4 separate regions of the Homo sapiens genome follow, and all the other regions are linked to region 1. Evidence: promoter capture Hi-C in 16 types of primary human blood cells and fetal thymus (Javierre and others, 2016). All regions are on one chromosome and are shown on one strand. Each heading gives the region's core, a stretch centred on a gene start or on the middle of the fragment in contact. The rest is flanking DNA. Distances are from core to core; before and after follow the strand shown.

The links. Contacts are between HindIII fragments. The CHiCAGO score rates a contact against its expected background, and 5 or more counts as called.
Region 2: a fragment that was not itself captured here is called in contact with the fragment with the promoter of GORASP1 in region 1 in 5 of 17 cell types (total B cells, neutrophils, naive B cells and 2 more); the score reaches 9.9 in total B cells.
Region 3: a fragment that was not itself captured here is called in contact with the fragment with the promoter of GORASP1 in region 1 in 12 of 17 cell types (total B cells, naive B cells, activated CD4 T cells and 9 more); the score reaches 13.2 in total B cells.
Region 4: a fragment that was not itself captured here is called in contact with the fragment with the promoter of GORASP1 in region 1 in 1 of 17 cell types (fetal thymus); the score reaches 5.4 in fetal thymus.

What each region holds. Positions count from the first base shown.
Region 1 is chr3:39,106,263-39,109,473 of GRCh38, reverse strand. GORASP1 (golgi reassembly stacking protein 1) reads left to right here and starts at 1,847. Exons shown (of 9, transcript NM_031899.4): 1 at 1,847-1,995. The coding sequence starts at 1,933. It overlaps TTC21A (tetratricopeptide repeat domain 21A), which reads right to left and starts at 1,794. Exons shown (of 29, transcript NM_001366900.1): 1 at 1,610-1,794; 2 at 260-389. The coding sequence starts at 1,636. RefSeq lists a silencer at 1,898-2,217. The HindIII fragment of the contact is 2,080 bases long and covers 805-2,884 here.
Region 2 is chr3:39,247,732-39,250,958 of GRCh38, reverse strand. All of the region lies in intron 2 of LOC102724104 (a long non-coding RNA gene), which reads right to left. Among named protein-coding and RNA genes, the nearest start is that of CX3CR1, 31 kb to the left of the region's middle. The HindIII fragment of the contact is 9,853 bases long and covers 1-3,227 here.
Region 3 is chr3:39,266,893-39,270,080 of GRCh38, reverse strand. The region is part of intron 1 of CX3CR1 (C-X3-C motif chemokine receptor 1); the gene reads left to right. Among named protein-coding and RNA genes, the nearest start is that of CX3CR1, 12 kb to the left of the region's middle. The HindIII fragment of the contact is 3,259 bases long and covers 1-2,980 here.
Region 4 is chr3:39,347,455-39,350,309 of GRCh38, reverse strand. No RefSeq gene overlaps it. Among named protein-coding and RNA genes, the nearest start is that of CCR8, 19 kb to the right of the region's middle. RefSeq lists a silencer at 2,678-2,855. The HindIII fragment of the contact is 2,916 bases long and covers 23-2,855 here.

The DNA.
Region 1 (3,211 bases), core at 598-3,097:
AGCTATCTCTCCAACCACTCATTTTACAGAGAGGGAACCCGAGGTGCAGAGCAGGGATAGTCAGCGCTCTGAGGTCTCAAAAGTCAACTAGATATGGATTACGTAGGCCTCTGTGGATTCCCGTGGGAATCCAGCCGCTGAGTGTGAAACTGTTTTTATGGGACCATAACTAGGATACAAGAAGGCATCCAGGTGGAGCCAGAGTGTTAGGGCCCAGCTAGTGCCTGGGGTCACAAGACCAACACTGCCAAGTCCTTACCTTCTTTGAGGACTCCATAGGCTTTAAAGAACTTCAACACAGGGTCATTGCTGAATTTTTCCAGGCCCACAGCTGCAGCCTGCTGCACATGGTGGAAGTACTTTTCCTGGCTATAGTAAATGATCCCAGCCTGTATGAAGGAAGACATAACTGCAATAGCCCAGTCCCTTCTCTGTCTCTGTTCTGTCCCAGATGGGATGAGACCTGCTCCCTTCCCTATCCCCTGCTCCTCCTCAGTTCTGCAAAGGGAAGAGAAAGAGGAAACATTCAGGCCTCATCCTGTCCTCTAACAGCCCTGGGAGCAGCTCCATGCAGTTTTCCCAGGAAAGAGTTTGGAGGTGTTTGTTTGGGGGATTACCAACAGATTCTGGTTCAACTATGATGGGGAATTCAACCAAGGCTTTGTCTTAGGAAGGGAATAAGGGGGGAAAAATGAGGACAAATAATAAGAAAAATTATACGAATTGTAGTTACAAGTTATTGTGGGCTTCATATCCACTATCCTGTGCATGGTCCTCTCAGTATCTTTCACAGCTAAGGAAGCTTAAGCCCATGGAAACTACAGCTTGACAAAGGGGCTGAGATTTTAAAGTTAAGTTTCACTTCCTCTAAGGTTTGTGGGTGCTAGGTTGGGAGCAGATGTGGTTGGACTGTAAACATCCTCATGGGCCATATGAAAGAGCCCAGACACCATCCTAAGGGTAACAGAAAGCAGAATGGTTTTAAGGCGAGGGATGTTTTCAGATGTACATTTTTGCAACAACCACTCTGGCTGCTTTTGCATGTGGGGGGTGTGTGCCGTGGTGGCAGCAGGGACTACTGATGCTGAAAAGAGCCACAGCAGAGAAACCAGATGGGAGGGAGGCTGTTGCAGGCTCTCAGGGGGGAGAGATGGTGCTGGTTCTGGGCTAGAAGATAAAAAGATAAAAAGAAAACCCAGGAGACATCAAGGAGCTGGCATTTCTTGTAGACAGGATTAGAAGATGAGTATAGGGAAGAGGTATGAGTTAAGGCTAGGAGATTAAATGGTGAAGCCATCAACTGGGGTGGGAGGCGCAGGCGAGAGTGAGCTGGGTGGAAGAAGGGATGATGACAAGAAGGGATAATGATAGTGATTGGATGAGCTGGTTTGGGGTAGCTCAAGAAACGGGGATGCTAATTTGGGGCTCAGGGTGCGCAGAAGCCACCGGAGAAGACGCCCTTGCCAGGGGGAGTGGGGCAAGAAAAGGCAGGACCGCCTGATATAACTGAGGACAGCGAAGGGTGGCAGGAGAGTAGCAGGGCAGACGGTCTCTGGGTCAGGGGCGGGGAGTCACGAGGGAGCCCTCGGACAGCGCCCGGGCCACGCACCATAAGGGAGGAGTCATTGCTGCTCATCTCGGGCCGCTCGCGGCTCCGAGTCCGGGTCTGGTGGGGCGGTGCAGAGCGGGATTCCCGAGGCAGGGTCGTGGGCACTCTATCGCGGCGGGCGGTTGAAGGCGTTACAGTCCTTGGAAACCGAGCTGCTAGCCGGTTGCTAGGAGCGTCCAGTGTCTGGAGTGGGAGGAACAAAACGCCTCACGTCACAAGGCGCAGGAATCGAGCGCCGAGAGAGCGAGTCGGTGCTACTGGCGTCGGGTCGGTCCGGGTAGGCGCAGCGGGACTGGACCTGGGTGCCGAGCGGAGCCGCTGCCATGGGCCTGGGCGTCAGCGCTGAGCAGCCCGCAGGCGGCGCCGAGGGCTTCCACCTCCACGGGGTGAGTTGCCGCCGCGGCGCCGGTGACCTTGGCGAGGCGCCCGCAACCCCGCGCCCGGGCGTCCGGTCGCCGGCTGGCTGGCGACTGCGGCGGGGTCCCGGCCCGAGTGTTTCCGCCTGGGTGGCGGGAGGTGCCCCCTGCCCGGTGGGAGCCTCCTGGGAGAGGCGGCCTCGCGGGACTCCCGGACCCTGGCTAGTCCGCGGCCGCGGTCGGGCCCAGCGCCCGCCCCAAGTGCCAGCAGTGCCGGAAGCGGAGCGTTTTCCTGGTCCGGCCGCCGGGAATGGCGCTCCTCCCGGGTGAAGAATGCACCACTACCAGTCGGGACGCACTCGTGCACTTAGCACACATTTACGCTCGCCTGCCGCGGGCCGCTCTCCGTGCTGGGCCTGGGAAGAGAGTCAGCCACGCCGAGGACAGTCCCGGGGGCCGGGGTTAACCGAGTGGACGCAGCTGCGGGGGAGCCCGTCGGCGCGCGTCCTGCCAGTCGTAGGGTCGTAAGGGCTTCCGAGGGTAGAGGACCGGTGCAAACCAGCCACGGGATAGTGGGGAGCGGGAGGGCCGGGAGAGTGCTGCAGAATCCTCGAGGAGAGCGTTTGCAGCTGGGGAGGGTCCCAGCCTTTAGATGCCGCTACATGGAGGTCTGGGCGAGCAGGCTTCCGGAGAGTGGAGACGGAGTGGGGTTCCTAGAACGGAGTGTGCTGTGAGGGTGAGGAGAGGGTCCCGCAGCCGGATGGAGATTTGTGCCTGCGGTGAGGGAAGGGCTATAATGTAGGTGAGAGGGGCTGGGGGTCTCTGACCCCGGAGCGCTGCGGGGAAGAGGCGTCCCTGCACCCCCCCTTTCCCTAGTGAAAGGCAGCTGGATGCAGAGATGAGTGGAGACAGGCAAGCTTGTCGGTTTGTGTGTTTTGAAGGTAGGGTCTGTTGCCAGCTAACCACATGAGAGGGCTAAAAGTTTCTTAACGTGAAAACCAGGCTGGCTTGGAGAACCCAGAGTTGACAGGATTTGTGCTTGGGAATGGGCTTTCTTATGGTGAGACACCAAACAGCAAGCGTGGACAGTGGAATGCATCCAGCCAGGAGCGTCTTCCAACAGGTTTGATTAAAGGCAAAGGAACTCAGGATATTGGCAAGAGGAGGGGTGGGGCGATGATGGGAGCTTCGAAGACGGGAGGGGCCTGCCTGATGGAGAGGGACAAATTGGAGAGGGACCAGGGAT
Region 2 (3,227 bases), core at 61-2,560, 140 kb before region 1:
CTTATTTATTTTGAGCCCCCATCATATTCCTCCCAACATCCAGCCTGCTGGAACAAACTGTCTGCTCCCCATGCTCCCACTCTCCCCTGCTCCTCCCTCCTTCAATAAGCCTCCTGTTTTTATTATTTTCCCCCTCGTTTTCTTCCTATTTTCTTTCTTTTTAGGTCTCCTCTCAGATCTGCCCTCCAGCCACAGTCCCCTTCCAGGAAGGGGAAAGGCCACAGAGGGGTAGGCGGAGGGGAGAAATGGCATTGGGCAGGGGGGGTGGGTGATGGGTGGGGTGGGGCACCGTGTGCAGCCCTAAATGTGAGTGAGGGAAGGCCCGAGGCTGATGCCTCCATATGCCTCTGCTTCCCCACACTGAACCTTCAGGAAGTGTGGGCCAAGCAGGAGTCTCCCTCAGAACCACAGCCATCCCCCCTACTTAGAGGACCTGTGCCTGAGCTTCCACCCTGGCTTACTTCCCACAGGAGGCTAGGAAGCCCTTGCTAATCAGCATCCAGCCTTCACCTGTCAGCTCCTAAAGAGAGAAGAGAGCAGAGAAGAGAGCTGAGAAGAGAGCAGCTCTAGGAGCTTCCAACATTTGTTCCTCCTGCCCGGCACAACAAAGATCTATTTTAATTCCCTCTGCTGGCTAGTCACTAGCATAGTGGAATGACATTAATCTCCCTTGTCAGGGGGAAGCTGAGGAAGCCAATACTTCTCCTTTGAGGTTTGAGTTGCAAAACTCTTCCTCAATCTCCAGCATTATAAATCCTGTTTTTACTTTCACAGCTATGTGCAAAATCCAAATAGCACCTTTCTAAAAATGAATAGAAGAAGCCATGTCTTATTCTGAAATTAAGTTTCCGAGGCTCTAAGAGGAGAGGACTAAGAGGGGCTATTCCAGCAGGGACACTGCTACCCTTGATGGGACACGAGAGGAGCTGTGCACCCTGAAGGATGACCTGACCCCCTCCCTTCTATTTCTAATTCAAGGAACATGGCCCAGGATGAGACAGTCTAGGAAATTATGCACACCCAAAAGGGTGGCATCGTCTGGGGAAATGTCAGCATCCCAGCACAAACTGACTCAAAGAAAGGAACTACCATCTGTGTGTGTCTGCTGAATACAGGCATTGTGCTAAAGTAATCTTAGCAATGTTGTCTGCAGCCCTTTATGGCTTTTGGTGATAGGTACCCAGCCACAGGGCAGTCCTGAAAGTCTGAGAAATTAGTCACAGCATCATTCGGGTCACACCATTGTGGTGGCTGTTACCTGCAAGAGGCTAACAAAGAGGTTTTAGGGTATGACTTCAGGTTGACCAAGTCAAGTGCATGATCTTTCCTGAGTTCATTCCTGGAGAGTGTCTATGTGACGGGTTCCTGCCTCAGCCCTCCTGGCAGAGAGCCTGTTTGGCTGAGCTGTCATGGTATCCACTCTGGGTGCTCTCTTCCTGCTCTCAGTGGAGGAGGGTGGCAGTTCATCACTGAGGTGTGAGTGAGCCTCAGATGTTTACGAGGAGGAGTTTCAGGCGCATATAACTCAAAGAAAACGGCTGGTCTTTCGGAACTTGCTAGCAGACCTACCTGCCACCCAGAACTAAATTCAATGAAACTTTATTTCATCCCTTATAAAGCATCTCTCATTTTGTGGACTGGGATTGATTCCTTCAAAAGTTGCCCTTACAGATACCACATCTGCAATGGTCCAATCATAAGGGTAACCACTCTTGGTAAACTATGTACATGCTTTGCTTGAGGGCATTAAAGATCAATATGTCCATGGACTGGCCTCTTCTCAAAACCCAACCACCAGCCAGTTGCCTTTACCATAACTCTTATCCTTAAAAGCCACATCTGATGGCATGGCCATGATGGCTAAGTTGGGTGCCTGATGAATCCAGACAGAAATTTAATAGTAGGCCCAAGTTACAAGATTCCAGTTCTGGAAAGTCAGCCCACGTCCATCTGAAAGAGCCTATGGTGCAGTGGTGACAGGTGGGAGCTCCCAAGGACACTGCCTGGTTTAAATCCCAGTCATTCCACCCACCAGCTGTGAGACATTGGGCAAGCTCTTCACACTTTTTGGTCTCAGTTTCTTCCTCTGTAGAATGAGAGTGATAATAACGGCTAACTTCACAGTGTAAGAATTAAATGAATTAGTATTTGAGAACTTCTTAGACCTGGACCTGGCACATGGCACAAATTCCACGCACACTGTTTGTGGTAGTGGTGAGGGTGATCATTGTTACGTATGTCCTAGCAGTAGAAAGTGGCCCAGGCTGGGATTTGAACATAGTACCACATTACTACCCAGCCACACTCTTTCCATGAAGCTGTTTTTTGTTTTTTGTTTTTGTCTTTCTTTTCTTTCTTTTTTTTTTTTTTGAGAGGGAGTCTCACTCTGTGGCCCAGGCTGGAGTGCAGTGGCGCGATCTCGGCTCACTGCAAGCTCCGCCTCCAGGGTTCACGCCATTCTCCTGCCTCAGCCTCCCGAGTAGCTGGGACTACAGGTGCCCACCACCACGCCCGGCTAATTTTTTTGTATTTTTAGTAGAGACAGGGTTTCACCGTATTAGCCAGGATGGTCTGGGTCTCCTGACCTCGTGATCCGCCCGTCTTGGCCTCCAAAAGTGCTAGGATTACAGGCGTGAGCCACTGCGCCCGGCCCACGAAGCTGTTTTTAATTTGGAAATGTCCGTTCCTTGAGATTCAAAACTAAAAATTAGGAACTGAAAGGTAGAGAATTCATCTTCACTGGGTATTACTGAGTGTTTTTACATCATGGCAGCCTTCCCTTTCAGCCTGCTTGGTGTTGCCGACGCCTCACATAGGCTGAAAGCACCCAGCTCTCTCCCTCTCGAACAAGAACTATTGTTCTATCTATGGGAATAGAAAGATCGACTTTCACATTTGGAAAAAATTAAACAAACCACTTTAAAGAGGCTGAAAACTGACTGCTGGAATATTTAACTAGATTAAGAATTAAAATTAAGAAAGTTTCTTTTACCGTTTTCCCCAACTTTTTATTTTAAAAATGGTAAAGCTAAGAAGTTAAATGAGCACTACAACAAACACCATATAACCTTTATCTGGATTCTGCAACTTTACCATTCTGCCACCTGTGTTTGATCTCTCTGTGTGAGAGGAGAAAGAAAGAGTAAGAAAAAGAGACAGAAAGAGATTTTTCTTTGACTAAACTATCAGAGAGTAAGTGACAGATATATTACTCCTAATTACATTAG
Region 3 (3,188 bases), core at 102-2,601, 160 kb before region 1:
AGCACAGGCCTTGGCCTCAGTCCTGCTCCCCCTGCTTCTAGCTGTGGGATGGGCCAGGTGCTTCACCCAGCTGTGCCTCCTGTGAGGCACAGTGTGTGCAAAATGGAAATGTGAACATGAAGATCAAAAATGTCCCTCAATGACCAGTGCTGTTCCTCAGAGTCACGTGGGAACTCATAGAAAGCGATATTGGTACTGCTCTTTCCTCTGTAGCATGGTCCAGATGGCTCATAGCAGGGACCATGATATGCTGGGTGAGCACCCACTGCATGCACCCACTGTGCCAGCACTGAGAGACTCCTGTGGGAGCCACAGCAATTCTAGGGTCTTCACTGGGGACTCTGAGACAGCAGGGAGCTAGGATGAGGGCTGCAGAGTGTTCGTCTGCCCTCACTGAGCAGACCCCCTGGATGGCAGGGAGCAGTCCCAAGCCAGATGGATGCCCATAACCAGCCATTTGGCTCTCAATACATAATATCACCACGTATCAGGCAAAACCATCCTGCCCAGAGCATTATCTGAATTTGCATCCCATCTGCAGAAGATACATTCACCCACTTCTTCCATTCTGTCTTAATCAAAGTCTTTATGTGAATTTTCCCCATTGAGAAGACAAGCCCCTTCCTGGCTTAGACTGTACCTGACTGATCTTTTCATGAGCTCCTTGCCAAGCCAGACCACCCCCAGCTTATATGGAGACTTGGTGCAAATTAGAGATGCCCCTGTGCACGTGGCAGCCCTGAGCCCAAGCACCCAGTAAGGCAAAGGGCCTGATTTGGGACCCCTCTGCCACTCCACCAGGCAATCAGTTGCTTATTTCTAACTTTCCCTTCCTTCTCCACATTTGTCCCATTCCTTCCTCTCATCATGAATATCCCCAGAGGCATTCAGCAGTGCAGTGAATTAAATATAGAACTTTTTTTTTTCAGAATTGCAGAACGGATTAGATCAATATTAATCCAAACAGAGCAATGAGCCTGACAGTTTAGTAAAAGCTCAATAAAGGGTGGCTTACCTCCCCCAAAATAATCTGAAAAGAAAGCATGTCTTATTTCAGGGGGAAAAAAAAATAAAGTGACCTTTAAAGACCAAATTCCCAGGATACCCAGGGTGGAGGTGGAACATGGGAGTCCACAGGCAGCCTGGATGTTTCCAAAGATCCAAAGGGCTTTTGCTTCCTCACATAATGCAGGAAACAAATTGAACATGTATTAAGTGCTTGCTGTATGTGACACACTGTGCCAGGTGCTCCCCTTAAAACAGTTCTGTGGGCAGGCATGAGAATGAATCCCGATCTTACAGACAAGGAATGTTAGGCTCAGAGGTTTCAAGCTCACCCATCACTCAGCCAGAGAGGACAGATGCAGGATTCAATCTCGGGAGTGCCCGAGTCCACAGAAGTTCCTGTGCTGAAGGACCGACCACAGGCACATAAAGAGATGCGAGACAATTTTTACTGGATTTGGCCACCTCTCGAGGTCGGCTTTGCCAGCTCTTCTCACTGGGGGAAGGGGAGGGAGAAAGTAGCTAGCTCCAGGGTCCCTAACATAGAACCACCAAGGACTTGACTATTTTTACTCATACAGCAGCTTGTCTGGGAAGATCATGCTCTGTGACAAGCTGCAGGCACTAAGTAGCAATTTCTGTTTCCCACATATTAGCTTGAGTCATATAAAACTGACATGGATGTGGCTCAAAAATAGCTGTATGTCAGCCATTTTATACCATTTGACTTAAATGTTATTAATTAACGTCACAGCCAGAGATTATTCTCTGAGAAAAGGGCATTGTAGCCTGAAGCAGAGAAAGCATACACGTTCCCTGGGGTTGAGAACTCATCACAGCCTGAGACAGCTTAGGTTGTAAAGCCCCGGCCCACTTATCCCAGGAGAGTCTGGGTGAGATGCAGGCCCCAAAGCAGAGGCTGGGAAGCGAGAAGTGACACACCCTGGCTGGGTGGGCCCTCATCTTGGTGAGACACCACCTGGGTAAAACCATCATGGAAAGGGTGTAGTGGGGCGTGGAAACTCCCTCGGTTAAAGCGTGAGCTTTGCTGTAAGTTGTGGTAAGGAGGGAGGCAGTGACAACCAGGAGGCCTGTTTTGAGGGTTTCTGAGGGACCCATCTGTGGTATCACGAGGAGACGCCCAGAGGAGCCGTGTGAAAGGGCTGCCTCCCAGCCGGCTCTGGAGTGAATGAGCAGCAAGTCCTGGCTGCGAAAAGAAGGGGAGTGCAGCCTGCAGAAGTGTCTTCTTTTTTCAATTCCTGCTCAGAAGGAAACAGGAGATAAGAATAGTGGGGAAGTCCAAACCAAAGTGAACTATAGGGCTGGTAATCGTAGGGGGAATTAGTCACCCGGAGACTAGCCCAGCAGACTAACGGAGCCCCATCCTCCATCTTGAATCAGTCAGCCCCTCTATGACTGCAGAGTCCTGAATGATGGCAACACCTTCTCTTCACTTAGCGTTGTAGGATGACCAACAGTCCTGATTTGCCTGGGACTGAGGGGTTCCCAATAGATGGGACTTTCAGGGCTAAAACCAGGAAAGTCCTGGGCAGCCCAAAACAAGGTAGTCACTCTAGAGTGTATGACTCTGTCTGATACCTGCTAAGAAAGAGAAGGACTTGTTGATTATAAGGAGAAGAGGAGGTGAAATGGTTCTCAAAAAACAAAGATGAGGGCTTCCGGGTGCTGTTCTGCCCAAGGCTCTGGGTCTGAGGCTTCTCTCTCCAGGCCTAGCTTCATGGAAAAGTAAGGGGCCAGAGGGTGGAAAAGGTGGAAACAAAGGAAGAGGATGGAGAATTGCTTTGGGGAAGTTTGGACTGGAAGTGTGAATTACAGCTGCACCCCCAATTCACCCCATCTCACCCCCCTCCCCCTCCTGCTCATGGTTCTCCCTTTCTCATCCACACATTGGTCAAACTAGCTAGCTTTTGGAGAGATTTTGGGCAGTAAAAGTAAAACAGATCTGTCTCAAGCTTCAAAAAGCCTAGAGCTGGCTGGGCGCTGTGGCTCACGCCTGTAATCCTAGCATTTTGGGAGGCTGAGGCGGAAGGATAATCTGAGGTCAGGAGTTTGAGACCAGCCTGGCTAACATGATGAAACCCCATCTCTACTAAAAATACAAAAATTAGCCAGGCGTGGTAGTGCACGCCTATAATCCCAGCTATTTGGGAGGCTGAGGCAGG
Region 4 (2,855 bases), core at 231-2,730, 240 kb before region 1:
GATCTTGCAGGATCCTCAAGCTTTAGCCATGTGTAGACTGACCAGCTTCCGGTGTGGTCAGAGCAGGGCAGTTGTCCTTCTTACTGGTGGTTGGGTTTTGCCATAGGACTATTCAGATGGGGTGATCTGGGTCTTGTTGGTTAATCCACTGGTCATCATCAGGAGTTACTGCTGCCGCTGGTTTCAGCTGGCTATGGTGAATCCAAGGTGTGAGACCTGCAACTTTAACAGCAGTGGGAGTAGACATGATTACAATATGGGGCCTATCCTGTATGGGTTCTAGAGTGGTTGGATTCCATTTTTTAACTTAAACAAAGTCCTTAGCTTTGAAAGGGTGTACCGGGTCTGTTAGACTTATAGGCATTCTTTTTCATACCTAGCCATGCATCTTTTACATGGCCATACTTAAAGCCTGCATTTGCCTTTTTAAAGTTAGTTCTCTTAGTTTACAGAGATTACCTTTAATCTGACCTATGATGGGGGGTGGCCGGCCGAACAAAATCTCATAGGGCGAATACCCAGTTTGTTTGGTGGGGGTGCACCTGACTTGGAGGAGGACCATGGGCAAGACCTGATCCTACTTTAGATGAGTTTCTTGACAAAATTTCTTCAGCAGCTGTTTGAGTGTTCAGTTCATGCATCCCACTTTACCTGAGCTCTGTGGCCTGTAGGTTGTATGTAATTTCCATTTTATTTTTAGTAGTCGAGTTAAGTCTTGAACTATTTCAGCCACAAGTGTTGGTTCATTGTCTGATCTTAGAGTTAGAGGCAGTCCAAATCTGGGAATAATGTCTCTTAACACCTCGGTTACCTCTAGTGCCTTCTCTGTCCAGGTGGGGAAGGCCATGACCTACCCTGAAAAGGTGCAAATGAACACCAACATGTACTGATAGCCTCCCTCTCAGGGCAATTCGGTGAAGTCCATAAGCAGTTTTTCACAGGGCATGGCTTTTGTTTTCTGATCTCCCGGGGGCCAGGTAGGCCTTTGTCGTGGATTGTTCTGAGTGCAAGTTAAACACTGCTTGTTTACAAATGGCTTGAGTAATGGCAGTGAGCCATGGCATATAGAAGTGATGCCTTAATAATGTCTTTAGTGCTGTTTTTCTCCATGTGAGTTCCTTGGTGGAACTCTTTTACAAATCTGGGGGCCACCATTTCAGGTATGGCTAGCCTCCCATTGGAGAATTTTTACTATCCTTTTTCAATGTAGTTTTTATTTTTCTGGGCAAATTAAGCCCTTTCATTTGGAGTAGCTCAGGATCTCCAGGAGGGGAATCTCTGGGAGGAGAGGCATAGCTAAGGCTTTCTTTTTAGAAGGTGGAGTTGTCATTGCAGCCTGCTTTGCCTCTTTGTCTGCCTTTCTATTTTTTTAGCCTTTAGTGTTCTTGCTTTTTGGTGCCCTTTGCAGTGCATCACTGCCACCTCTTTTGGGGCCTATACAGCATTTAAGAGCCATAGAATTTCTTCCTTGTACTTTATTTTTTTACTTTCAGCAGTTAAAAGTCTTTTCTCTTTGTAAATAGCCTCATGAACACGCAAAGTGGCAGAAATATATTTGGAATCTGTGTAAATATTTGTCTTTTGGTCTTTTGCTAGCCAGAGACTTCTTGTGAGAGCTATTACCTCTGCTTTTTTTTTTTTTTTTTTTTTTTTTTTTGAGATGGAGTCTCTCTCTGTCACCCAGGCTGGAGTGCAGTGGTGCCATCTCGGCTCACTGCAAGCTCCACCTCCCGGGTTCACACCATTCTCCTGCCTCAGCCTCCCGAGTAGCTGGGACTACAGGTGCCCGCCACCATGCCCAGCTAATTTTTTGTATTTTTAGTAGAGATGGGGTTTCACCATGTTAGCCAGGATGGTCTTGATCTTCTGACCTCGTGATCCACCTGCCTTGGCCTCCCAAAGTGCTGGGATTACAGGCATGAGCCACCATGCCCAGCCGCCTGTTTTTTTTTTTTTTTTTTTTTTTAATCTGGTATATGATCATACCTTACTGTTTCTTTGTATACCTTGTTATTTTTTGTTGGGAATTTGACCTTTCAGATTATGTGTAATATCAATTCTGGGTACCAGTTTCTCCACCCCCAGAGCTTGCTATTGCTATTTGTTTATTTATCAGTTTATTGGCTGGCTGGATTATTCTAGTAAAGTTTAAACACTCTCCCCCAACCCCCACAGTGCTAATGAAGCCTCTGACATTGCTCCTCAGAAAGACAGTTTTGGGTATGCCTACAGTTATCCTGGGATGACAGTGATATTGGTAAAGGCCACTTCTCTTTCTCTGACCACACCTAGATGTTAAATCTTCACTAATTGCCTGCTGATTGCTCCACTGTTTTCAACAATGTCCTGGGGCAAAAATAGCTTTATAATCTAAACCAAAGAAATTGTATTTCCTTTGAAAGAATAGTTTCTGAAGTCAGTGTTTGATATTTATTCTGCTCCTGGACAAGCTCCTGTCAGCTGCCTTTTCCCCTAGCTCTTTCTGAAGCAGCCTCGTTGTCTGAGATAACACCCGAGATTCTTTGTCTCATGGCCATGGAGATCAAGAACACAGACACACGCAGGGTGAGGTTAGAGCAGAAATTTAATAGGTGAAAGGAAAAGAACAGCTCTCTGCTACAGAGAGGAGTCACATATGGGTTGCCATACTGCAGTAAAACATAAGGTGTTTCATAAATGAGCTAGTGGGGAGGGGGTATCTTATCTATGTAGAGCACAAAAAACTGGTTGGGATCAGGTGTGCCATCTGCATAGAGCAGAATCTCTGGCAGCCCCCATCCCACTCTTTTGTCATGCAGGTGGGTTCTTAGCTTGGGCTCCTCCTATGCTGGGTATCTCCTTCCCACTCTGCATGA